Linked DNA regions of Homo sapiens: region 2 is linked to region 1. The links are contacts of gene promoters, found by promoter capture Hi-C in human tissues and cell types (Jung and others, 2019). All regions are on one chromosome and are shown on one strand. The core of a region is centred on a gene start or on the middle of the fragment in contact, and the rest is flanking DNA. Distances in the headings are between cores, read along the strand shown. Region 1 holds the start of SNAP91 (synaptosome associated protein 91). Region 2 overlaps RIPPLY2-CYB5R4 (RIPPLY2-CYB5R4 readthrough).

Region 1 (5,231 bases), core at 1,063-3,562:
CCAAAAACATCACAATAGAACAGAAGATCCTAAGCAGGTCAAGAGAACTAAATAGCAACTGCTGAACATACACTCATATAGCCTGACTTATGAGAAACCTCACCACCCAAAGCAGGTGAAAGCCTTTTTCTTTTCTAAGTGCCTCTGTTTATCCTTCGGTGACAAAAGATTTACTGTTAATTAAGGTATTTCAGAAATATATAGATTCCAGAGTAGAATAAAGCCTTTTCCATCAAATAACCAGTTACAAAAATAATATTAAGAATTAAACGGTTTCATCTAAAATTGCACCATCTCAGATGCTGGGGAAGTACATCCATTTTGTGACCATAGCATAGTCATCTCACCCAGCATTTTCTGAGAATGGGACAAAGTGTGCCAGGATGTGTAAAATGAAATTGCCATAGCTATGAAGTCCAATTTCCTCATTCAGTACCTTGAATTTATTTCAGTTTGGTATGGTAACATACCTCACACACACACACACACACCCATACTCACAAAAACAATCCTCAGGAGCAACACTTAAAAAGATTATACTACCTTAGAACTATCTGAAATGTATTTAGGAAAGAACTAGGGTGACAAGTTTGACCTTCCATAAATTCATCTTTTTTTTTTTTGACTGTGCAACCTCTAATTTCCTCTAATTTGGAGAAGGGAGGGTGGGTGGAGAAAGAAAAAAAGGTGAAAAACATCTAATTCAGTGTGTACAATCTCTCTCTTGTGTGTGTGTATATACATATGCGTGTGTGTGTGTGTGTGTGTGTGTATTTTTCCCCCTCCACCAAGACCTTGGAGGTCAATAAGAGGAAAAAATGGCTCACAAGACAAGGTTTCATGGCTAACCCAAGGGAACACCTTCACAGCTGAAGAATTTCAGCTCAGGGGCAACCTGGCTGGGAGTATCAGAGGCCACAGCATTATGGACCAAGAGCGCAGGCCGCACCACCAGCATCCCAGGCGCCTCTGCCGTGCGCATGTCCCTCTTATATAAAGAGATGCTTACAGTCCAGGTGCTTTTTCTTGGGGCCCATTACTTCATGAGTAGTGGCTTTGCAGACCGCTCTTGCTACAGCAGAGCCTGTAACGCTGTACTGAGCGGCGGCGATCCGATCCGTGAGCGTTTGGCCCGACATCTTCTGTGGTCGCGTCTACCGCCTCCTCTTCTGCAGGAAACAAGGGGAGACGGTCCGGCTTTAATCCGCAGACCCTACCCTCCAAGCACCCAGGCCTTGCCTCCTCCAGCCGCGCGGCGGCTCTCTCCTCCTCCATCCCCACCCTGGCACCACCTCTCGGAGCCAGCAACGCGCCAAGCCCCGCTCCTGCGATGCGGTCCAGGGAGTCTTGGCCGTGAGTAGGGCCGTCACGGAACCCCAGCGTGGGCTCCAGTCGCAGCATCGTGACACCGTCCCCATTCTCCCCCGGCCCCCACATAGGGCCAGACTCACCCCCTGGGGACCCCCCTGTCAATCAGCACTTTCCCCGCAACCTGACCCGCGGGTGCTGGACTAGCCACAACGTGCGTTGGGGTTATTCCCTGGGCGCCGCACCCACCGGTGCCCATCTCCCACCTCAGCAGACTTTCCTCCTAGCAGCCCGCAGGCTTCGGGGAATGCATCGGATACCCAAGCCCTGGCTGCCTCCCTCCTCCTCCTCGCGCTGCTGCAGCAAAGGGCTCGTCCTCCCTCAGTCGCGAAGGAGATTATCCTAGCGTTGCGCCATGTTATGCCCTCGCCTCCCCTTCCTTCCTCGCCGCCGGCTCCAAAGCCTCGCCGAGGCCCATCGCCCGGGCCCCTTCCCCCCGGTTCCAAATCCCTGCCGCAGGGGCCGCCCGGGAGCTCTGCGGAGGCGCCGGAGTCTTGGGGCGCCTCACCCTTCCTGGCTTTGGAGAGGAGCCGGGCTGACAGCGAAGCCCAGTCCCCCGCCCGCCCTGGAGCGCTCCGCGGAGCTGTCACTCGGCCGCTGCCCTTCTCCGCACCCTGGGATTATCCTCTGCGGATCCCCGCGAGACCCTGGCGCGGGGAGGGGGCCGAGTACGGCCGCGGGTACTCACCCCGCCCCTGAGCGGCGCCGCCCGCCGCAGGATGAGCGGAGCCCGGGCCGCCGAGGGAAGCCGCGCCGGTGGATGTGTGCGACCGCGCGTAGCCCCGGTGCCCCCGGGCGCAAAGTCTCCAGCCCTGGCCGGGCCCCGCTCCTCAGCTCCGCGGTCCCGGCGCCCACCGCCCCTGGCCCCTGGCCCCAGAAGCCAGTACCCGCCCGCCGCCGCCTCTTCTGCCAGCGCCGCCGCGTCTCTCTAGCGCTCCGAGCTGCGTCCCCATCCCCGCCCCCACCTCAGCTGTGGCTCCTCCGACGAGTCAGGTGACGGCGGCGGACAAACCCGGACGAGCCCTCGGCGGAGCGCCTCGCGGCCCCCTCCCAGCTACTCACACACACCGCCCCCCGGGGCCGGGAGCTTAAAGGCGAGGGGGCGCCTCGCGCAAGCATCCCCGGCAAGCCGGCGGGGAGAAGAAGGAGGCGGGGAGGCCGACACCCACCCAGCCAGCGGCTCTCCGCTGGGCGCCGGGCCGCCCCTCCGCTGCTGGCGCCGCACCCGGCACGCACTGGGCTCGCGCACCACGCACACCTGCCCGCCGACTGCGGGGGGAGCCCTGGGCGTTGGGGGCGTTGGCCAAGACGGGCGAGTGGGCTTCTCGGGTTCTACTCTGTGAAGGCCAAGGCAAGGGCGTCGTCGCGCGCTGCCTGGCGGAGCCCAGCCCCTTCCCCACACTGTCGCTGACACGCCCGCCTGTCAAAGGCTCCGAGGCCCAGATGAGCAGGGCGATTTTAAATGTCAGATCCTGCCGGCCATCCGCGACCGTCACCTGTGCGTCTTCAGCTCCTCAGGCTCCTCCGCTTGTCTCAGTTACAACTGGGAGCCCGGGTGGGCAGGTAATTCTAGCCACTTTAGTCTTAAACGGATACTGAGGTCTGCTGAAGGGAGAATAATTAACACAGCCGTTAATCGAGTCCCAGATTACCTTCGACAGTAATCATTTGCGTGCATAAAGAAAACCCTTTGTACCCTTAAGAAGTAATTTCTGCCAATTAAATATAGTGTTGGAACGTCCGTCAATTGTATGTCAAGTGTATATTCGAATAGTAAGCAGGAATTTCTAAACAGGGATGTGGAGTTGGTTAATAGCTTCACGTGTTGACATTTTCAAAGGTTGTTATTTATGTTCACCTTTTTTTTTAATTCTCACAGTAGCATGAAGATCAAAACTATATTTGTGAGCTTTCCTGGCATTTTTTCTCCTTGCTTCGGGTGGCTTCTGCTCGGCCTTGAAGCCATATATCGATACCTATCGATCTCAACGTTTTGTTATATATTCCTCTCTTTCACCTGGTACAGTGTTCAGTATGCAGTCATGATTTCCTAACTACTGAGACTGATTCTAGGACTAATTGGAAGCTTAATGACTAAAGAGAGACAGCTTAAGAGCACTATTGTCTCAAGTACTAGTCTTACCATATTTACAAGGGAAATAAAAACGCAATTCTATTAAAAAAACTTGTACTCCAGTTTTATAGCAGCTTAATATAATGGCCCCAAACTGGAGGAAAGCCAAATGTTATTCTACTAGTAAATGAATAAACAAAATATGGTATATCCACATAATGGAATACTACTTAGCAATAACAAGAAACAAACTAATACCATTCATGAATCTCAAATTCATTAGACGAAGGGAAAGAAGCTCTATCAAAAATTCTACTTATTATTTTGATTTCATTTATGTAACATTCTGGAAAAGTCAAAACTATAGAAACAGAAAACACATCAGGTGCCGAGTCAGGTGACGGTGGCATTGGGGGAGGGGACTGCAAAGGGGCAGAAGGAAACTTTTTGGAGAGATGGAAATGTTTTATATCGTGACGGTGATGATGATTATACAGCTGCATGTATTTCTCAAAACTCATCAATTTGTACACTTAAAATTGGCGAATTTTGTTGTTTGTTAATTATACCTCAATATAATCTGATAGAGTTGGGAGTGGCAATATTAATATCAAAGTAGGTTTTACAATAAGGAATATTAATAGCAATAAACAGGCACATTTCATAATGAAAAATTCATTAAGAGCATGGAACAATTCTACTTGTTTGTATATCTAAGAACAGAGCTTCAAAGTAGGACGAAGCAAAACCTAATAGCATTAAAAGGAGAAACAGGCAAATCCACAATTATACTTCAGGATTTCAGCACTTTTCTCTATGTAATAAATAGGACAAGTAGACAGGAAACCTGTAAGGGTATAGATGACTTGAAATAGCCCTGTAGGCCGGACGCGGTTGGCTCATGCTTGTAATCCCAGCACTTTGGGAGGCCGAGCCAGGCAGATCATGAGGTTAGGAGATCAAGACCATCCTGGCTAACACGGTGAAACCCCGTCTCTACTAAAAATACAAAAAAAAAAAAAAATTAGCTGGGCGTGGTGGTGGGTGCCTGTAGCCCCAGCTACTCAGGAGGCTGAGGCAGGAGAATGGCGTGAACCCGGGAGGCGGAGCTTGCAGTGAGCGGACATCGCGCCACTGCACTTCAGCTGGGGTGACAGAGCAAGACTCTGTCTCACAAAAAAAAAAAAAAAGAAAGAAATAGTCCTGCAGACCAACTTCACCTAATTGACATTTATAAAATAGTCCACCCAACAGTAGTGGAATACTTTCTTAAAGTGTGCATGGAATATTCTCCAGGATTGACCATACTGACTGATCCTAAGCCATGAAGCTAGTCTCAATAAATTTAAAAGGATTATAATCATACACATTATGTTCTCTTACCACAGTGGAATTTAACTAAAAATCGGTGACAGATAGATATATGGAAATCTCTAAATATTTGGTAATTAAACAACACATTCCAAATAACCCATAGGTCTAATTTTCTCATAAGAAAATTGGAAATTTATTTGAACTAAATAATAATGAAAATCCAACATATCAAAATTTGTGGGTTGCAGGCAAAGTGGTGATTAGAGGCAAATTTATAGCATTAAAATGCTTAGGAATGAAGAAAGATCTAAAAATATTTATTTGAGTTTGAACCTTAAGACACTAGAAAAAGAATAAATTGAATTCAACATGAGCAGAAAGAAGGAAGTAATAAAGAGTACAAATCAATGAAAGAGAAAATGACAAATAATAGATAAAATCAATTAAACCAAAAGCCATTTTTTGGAAAAGATCA
Region 2 (5,231 bases), core at 1,013-3,512, 250 kb after region 1:
TCCTGCTGTATTATGAAGAAGGTCCTTGCTTCTTCTTTGCTTTCTACCATAATTGTACATTTCCTGAGGCCTCCCCAGCCATGCAGAACTGTGAGTCAATTAAACCTCTTTTCTTCATAAATTACCCAGTCTCAGGTAGTTCTTTATAGCAGTGTGAAAATAGACTAATATAAAAAGAGACTATTTACCACTTTTTTTTAGTTCATTTGCGATGTATCAAATCTAACTTAGCCAACATCTTTCTCATCTTTTCTAAGCCTCTTCTTTTTTCTCTCTCCTTTCCCAAGCAACAGAATCTCCTATTAGTCGCTATATGTAATGCTTCCTCATTCCTCCTTTTATGTTTTATATTTTTGTTTATATTTTATTTATATTTTGTTTATATTTTGTTATATTTTATTATATTTTGTTATATTTATATTTTGTTTATATTTTAAAACAAATCCATAAGTGTCTCCTGGGTAATCTCCACTGACATGATTTTATCAACTTACATGTTAATTCCCAAATGGGAGTGACTAATTTGAGAATCAGCTGAGCTTCAGTTTTCAATATCCATTTACTTCCTGCATACCACCCCACCATCCACCTAGTAAGCCATTCTAGAACTATTAGGAATCAACATCAATGTCCCCTTCTCCAGTCTGACTCTTCCATACCAGCTAACCCTGTCCTATCATCCCTCAGCTGGATTAGTACAGTAGCTTGATAATTCATCTTCATGCTGCAGTCCTGATCTCCTAAAATTCATTCTCCATTCCAGGGTATTCTAGAAGGACTTGGAGGAAAAAATCCCCTAAGTAGAGCCTCAGTCTTCCAATGAATGCAACCAAATACTGAGGAGCACAGATAGGAGTATAGTTTATCACTGTTATTCTCAAGCAAATAACTCAAAGACTCCTACATCACATATTTGCAGTGAAGAAGAATTACGCTCAAAGTCACATTTGCTTGCAAATTCTGCTTTTTTTAAAAAAAAGTTTATTAATTTTCTATTGCTGCTAGATCAAATTACTACAAACTTAGTAGCTTAAAACAACACCCATTTATTATCTCACAGTTCCATGGCACAGAAATCTAGGCACAATATGGCTCAACTGGGTCCTCTGCTTAAAGCCTCACAAGGCTGTAATCAGATTGTCAGCTGAGCTGGGCTCTTAGCTAGAGGCTGTAAGGGGAAGTCCCTAGATAAGAGTTCTTTCAGCCTCATTAGGTAGATTTCAGTTCCTTGCAGTTGTAGGACTGAGTTCCCCATTTCCTTGCTAGCTGTTAGCTGTGGGCTAGTCTTTGTTTCTAGAATTTGCCCACATTCCTTCTCATACTTTCTGTGTGGCCCTCTTCAGCATTAGTGGATGAATCTCATGCTTTCAGTCTCTCTGAATTCCCTTGTGGGCTTCTTCAGCATTGGTAGATGAATCTTATGCTTTCAATCTCTCTGAATTCCCTTTCTGCCATATCTTTCTTGCCCTAGCAAGAGTTCACTGCTTTTAAGATCTCATGTGGTTAGATTGGACCTATCCAGATATCCAGGGTAATCTTCCTATTTTAAAAATCTATAATTTTAATTATAGCTGTAAAGTCCCTTTTCCTATATAATATATTCAAAGGTTGCAGGCATTTGGGTGTTGACATCTTTGATGGGCACATTGTGTCTACCACAGGCTATAGAAAGAACAGAGAAATTTGTCCAAGATAAGATGATTAGGTTTTGTCTAGATAGGGGCCCTTGCTATGGGCCCTCAGTTTTTACCTTAATGTAACAGAACATGAGAGGAGCTTTGACACCCACCCCAAAAGAGTCAACTTCATTATGCTGGCAAAGGCATGGGTACAACCTGCTCTGTGATCTACCTTCTGAACCACACAAGCTTGTCCTGAACGAGGTTGGGGCTGAGTCTGTTGATAACAGACCCCCATTTTTGGGCAGAAAAAACAGATTCTGTATGATCTACAGTATTTAACATTGTGGCAAATAAATTATAAAGGAAAAATGGAATCTCAAGTAGTTACAGTCTCTTGGTGTCTTTCAACATTGGTTTTATTTTGAAGTCATTTTCACCCAGCATTGCAAGTTTAGCAGACCTCAAAACAGAATGCCAAAGTGATCTTAAAATTCAAAAATGAGTTTACTTTCTTTGTTAAAGTTCTCTTTTGATGCATATCCCCCATTCATGGAATGGAAGCATTATCTTGGGTGCAGCATTACACGTAGAGTTAAAATGTGGAAACAACCCAAACATCCTGATATGGTTTGGCTCTGTGTCACCACCCAAATCTCATCTTGAATTGTACTCTCATAATTCCCATGTGTTGTGGGAGGAACCCAGTGGGAGATAATTTGAATCATGGGGGCAGTTTCCCTCATACTGTTCTCATGGTAGTGAATAACTCTCACAAGACCTGGTGGTTTTATCAGGGGTTTCCGCTTTTGCATCTTACTCATTTTCTCTTGCGGCCGCCATGTAAGAAGTGCCTTTCACCTCCTGCCATGATTCTGAGGCCTCCCCAGCCATGTGGAACTGTAAGTCCAATTAAACCCCTTTTTTTCCCCAGTCTCAGGTACGTCTTTTATCAGCAGCGTGAAAATGGACTAATACAGTAAATTGGTACCAGTAGAGCAGGTGTTGCTGCAAAGATACCGGGAAATGTGGAAGCAACTTTGGAACTTGGTAACAGGCAGAGATTGGAACAGTTTGGAGGGCTCAGAAGAAGACAGGAAAATGGGAAAGTTTGGAACTTCCTTGAGACTTGTTGAATGGCTTTGACAAAAATACTGATAATGATATGGACAATGAAATCTAGACTGAGGTGGTCTCAGGTGGAGATGAGGAACCTGTTGAGAACTGGAGCAAAGGTGACTCTTGTTATGATTTAGCAAAGAGACTGGCGGCATTTTGCCCCTGCCCTGGAGATTTGTGGAACTCTGAACTTGAGAGAGATGATTAAGGGTATCTGGTGGAAGAAATTTCTAAGCAGCAAAGCATTCAAGAGGTGACTCAAGTGTTGTTAAAGGCATTCAGTTTTAAAAGGGAAGCAGAGCATTAAAATTCAGAAAATTAGCAGCTTGACAATGCGATAGAAAAGAAAATCCTATTTTCTGAGGAGAAATTCAAGCTGGCTGTAGATATTTGCATAAGTAACAAGGAACTGAATGTTAATTTCCAAGACAATGGGGAAAATGTCTCCAGGGCATGTCAGAGACATTTGTGGCAGCCTCTTCTATCACAGACCTGGAGGTCTAGGAAGAAAAAATGGTAAAAATGGTTTTGTGGGCAAGGCCTAGGGTCCTTGTGCTGTGTGCAGTCTAAGGACTTGGTGCCCTGTTTCCTAGCCACTCCGGCCATGGCTGAAAGGGGCCAACATGAAGCTCAGGCCATGGCTTCAGAGGGTGAAAGCCTTAAGCCTTGGCAACTTCCATGTGATGTTGAGCATGTGGGTGCACAGAAGTCAAGAAATGGGGTTTGGGAACCTCTGTCTAGATTTCAGAAGATGTATGGAAATGCCTGGATGCCCAGGCAGAAGTTTGCTGCAGGGGCGGGGCTCTCATGGAGAACCTCGGCTAGGGCAGTGCAGAAGGGAAATGTGGGGTTGGAGCCCCCTCACAGAGTCCCTACTGGGACACCGCCTAGTGGAGCTGTGAGAAGAGGACCACTGTCCTCCAGACCCCAGAATGGTAGATCGACTTACAGCTTGTACCAGGTGCCTGGAAAAGCTGCAGATACTCAACACCAGCCCATGAAAGCAGCCAGGATGGAGGCTGTACCCTGAAAGCCACAGGGCCAGAGCTGCCCAAGACCATGGGAAGCCACCTCTTGCATCAGCGTGACCTGGATGTGAGACCTGGAGTAAAAGGAGATCATTTTGGAGCTTTAAAATTTGACTGCCCCACTGGATTTTGGACTTCCATGGGCCCTGTAACCCCTTTGTTTTGGCCAATTTCTCCCATTTGGAATGGCTGTATTTACCCAATACCTGTACCCTCATTGTATCTAGGAAGTAACTAGCTTGCTTTTGATTTTACAGGCTCATAAGTGGAAGGGACTTGCCTTGTCTCAGATGAGACTTTTGAACTGTGGACTTTTGGGTTAATGCTGAAATGATTTAAGACTTTGGGGTACTGTTGGGAATGCATGATTGGTTTTGAAATGTGAGGACATAAGATTTGGAGGAGCCAGGGGTGGGATGATATGGTTTGGCTCTGTGTCCCCACCCAAATTTCATCTTGAATTATACTCCCATAATTCCCATGTGTTATACGTGGGACCTGGTGGGAGATAATTTGAATCATGGGGGTGGTTTCCCCCATACTGTTCTCATGGTAGAGAATAAGTCTCATGAGATCTGATGGTTTCATCAGGGGGTTCCGCTTTTGCATCTTACTCATTTCTCTTGCTGCCACCCTGTAAGAAGTATTTTTAACCTACCGCCATGATTCTGAGGCCTCCCCAGCCATGTGGAACTATAAGTCCAATTAAACCTCTTTTTCTTGGCTTAATTTCTTGGGTATGTCTTTATCAGCAGTGATTCTATTCCTATGAAATGTCTAGAACAGGAAAATCTATGAGACATAAAGTAATTAAGTGGCTGTTCAGGGGATACAGGAATAGGGGATAATAACTAAAGGGTTGGGAGGGTGTTTTTGAAATGCTAAAATATTCTGAAGTTTACTGTGGTTATGGTTGCACATACTTATGAATATACCTAAAAATGTTGAATTGTACATTTTAAGTAGATGAATTGTATCTAATTTGAACCATATCTCAGTAAAGATATAAAAATGTTTTTGGGTACTAAGACTAAACTAGAAAGAACATAAGAGGAAATACATATTATATAAGAAGAAAAGAGTAAAAATAAATCTTTAAAAAAATAAAAATAAAAAGGAGGCCTGTGTGCGGTGGCTCATGCCTGTAATCCCAGCACTTTGGGAGGCCGAGGCGGGTGGATCACCTGAGGTCGGGAGTTTGAGACCAGCCTGACCAACATGGAGAAACCCTCTCTCTACTAAAAATACAAAATTAGCCAGGTGTGGTAGCATAGGCCTGTAATCCCTGCTACTTGGGAGGCTGAGGCAGGATAATTGCCTGAACCCGGGAGGCGGAGGTTGCGGTGAGCCGAGATTGCACCTTTGCACTCCAGCCTGGGCAACAAGAGTGAAACTCCATCTCAAAAAATAAAACAAATAAAAAGGATTCTAGAGGAAGTGGTAAATAGTGAAGATAGGCAAAGAA

What was found. The method cuts DNA at HindIII sites, captures the fragments that hold promoters and counts their contacts. A contact is called where the count stands out against the background at its distance.
Region 2: a fragment that was not itself captured here is called in contact with the fragment with the promoter of SNAP91 in region 1 in 2 of the 25 tissues and cell types used here (H1 embryonic stem cells and thymus).

What each region holds. Positions count from the first base shown.
Region 1 is chr6:83,706,789-83,712,019 of GRCh38, forward strand. SNAP91 (synaptosome associated protein 91) reads right to left here and starts at 2,313. Exons shown (of 30, transcript NM_001242792.2): 1 at 2,057-2,313; 2 at 1,010-1,169. The coding sequence starts at 1,139. LOC105377879 (a long non-coding RNA gene) reads left to right here and starts at 2,654. Exons shown (of 3, transcript NR_136251.1): 1 at 2,654-2,931. RefSeq lists silencers at 1,282-1,576, 1,986-2,195, 2,526-2,585. The HindIII fragment of the contact is 7,193 bases long and covers 1-5,231 here.
Region 2 is chr6:83,961,524-83,966,754 of GRCh38, forward strand. RIPPLY2-CYB5R4 (RIPPLY2-CYB5R4 readthrough) reads left to right here. Exons shown (of 18, transcript NR_174604.1): 18 at 1-5,231. It overlaps CYB5R4 (cytochrome b5 reductase 4), which reads left to right. Exons shown (of 16, transcript NM_016230.4): 16 at 1-5,231. Among named protein-coding and RNA genes, the nearest start is that of LINC02857, 57 kb to the right of the region's middle. The HindIII fragment of the contact is 3,037 bases long and covers 745-3,781 here.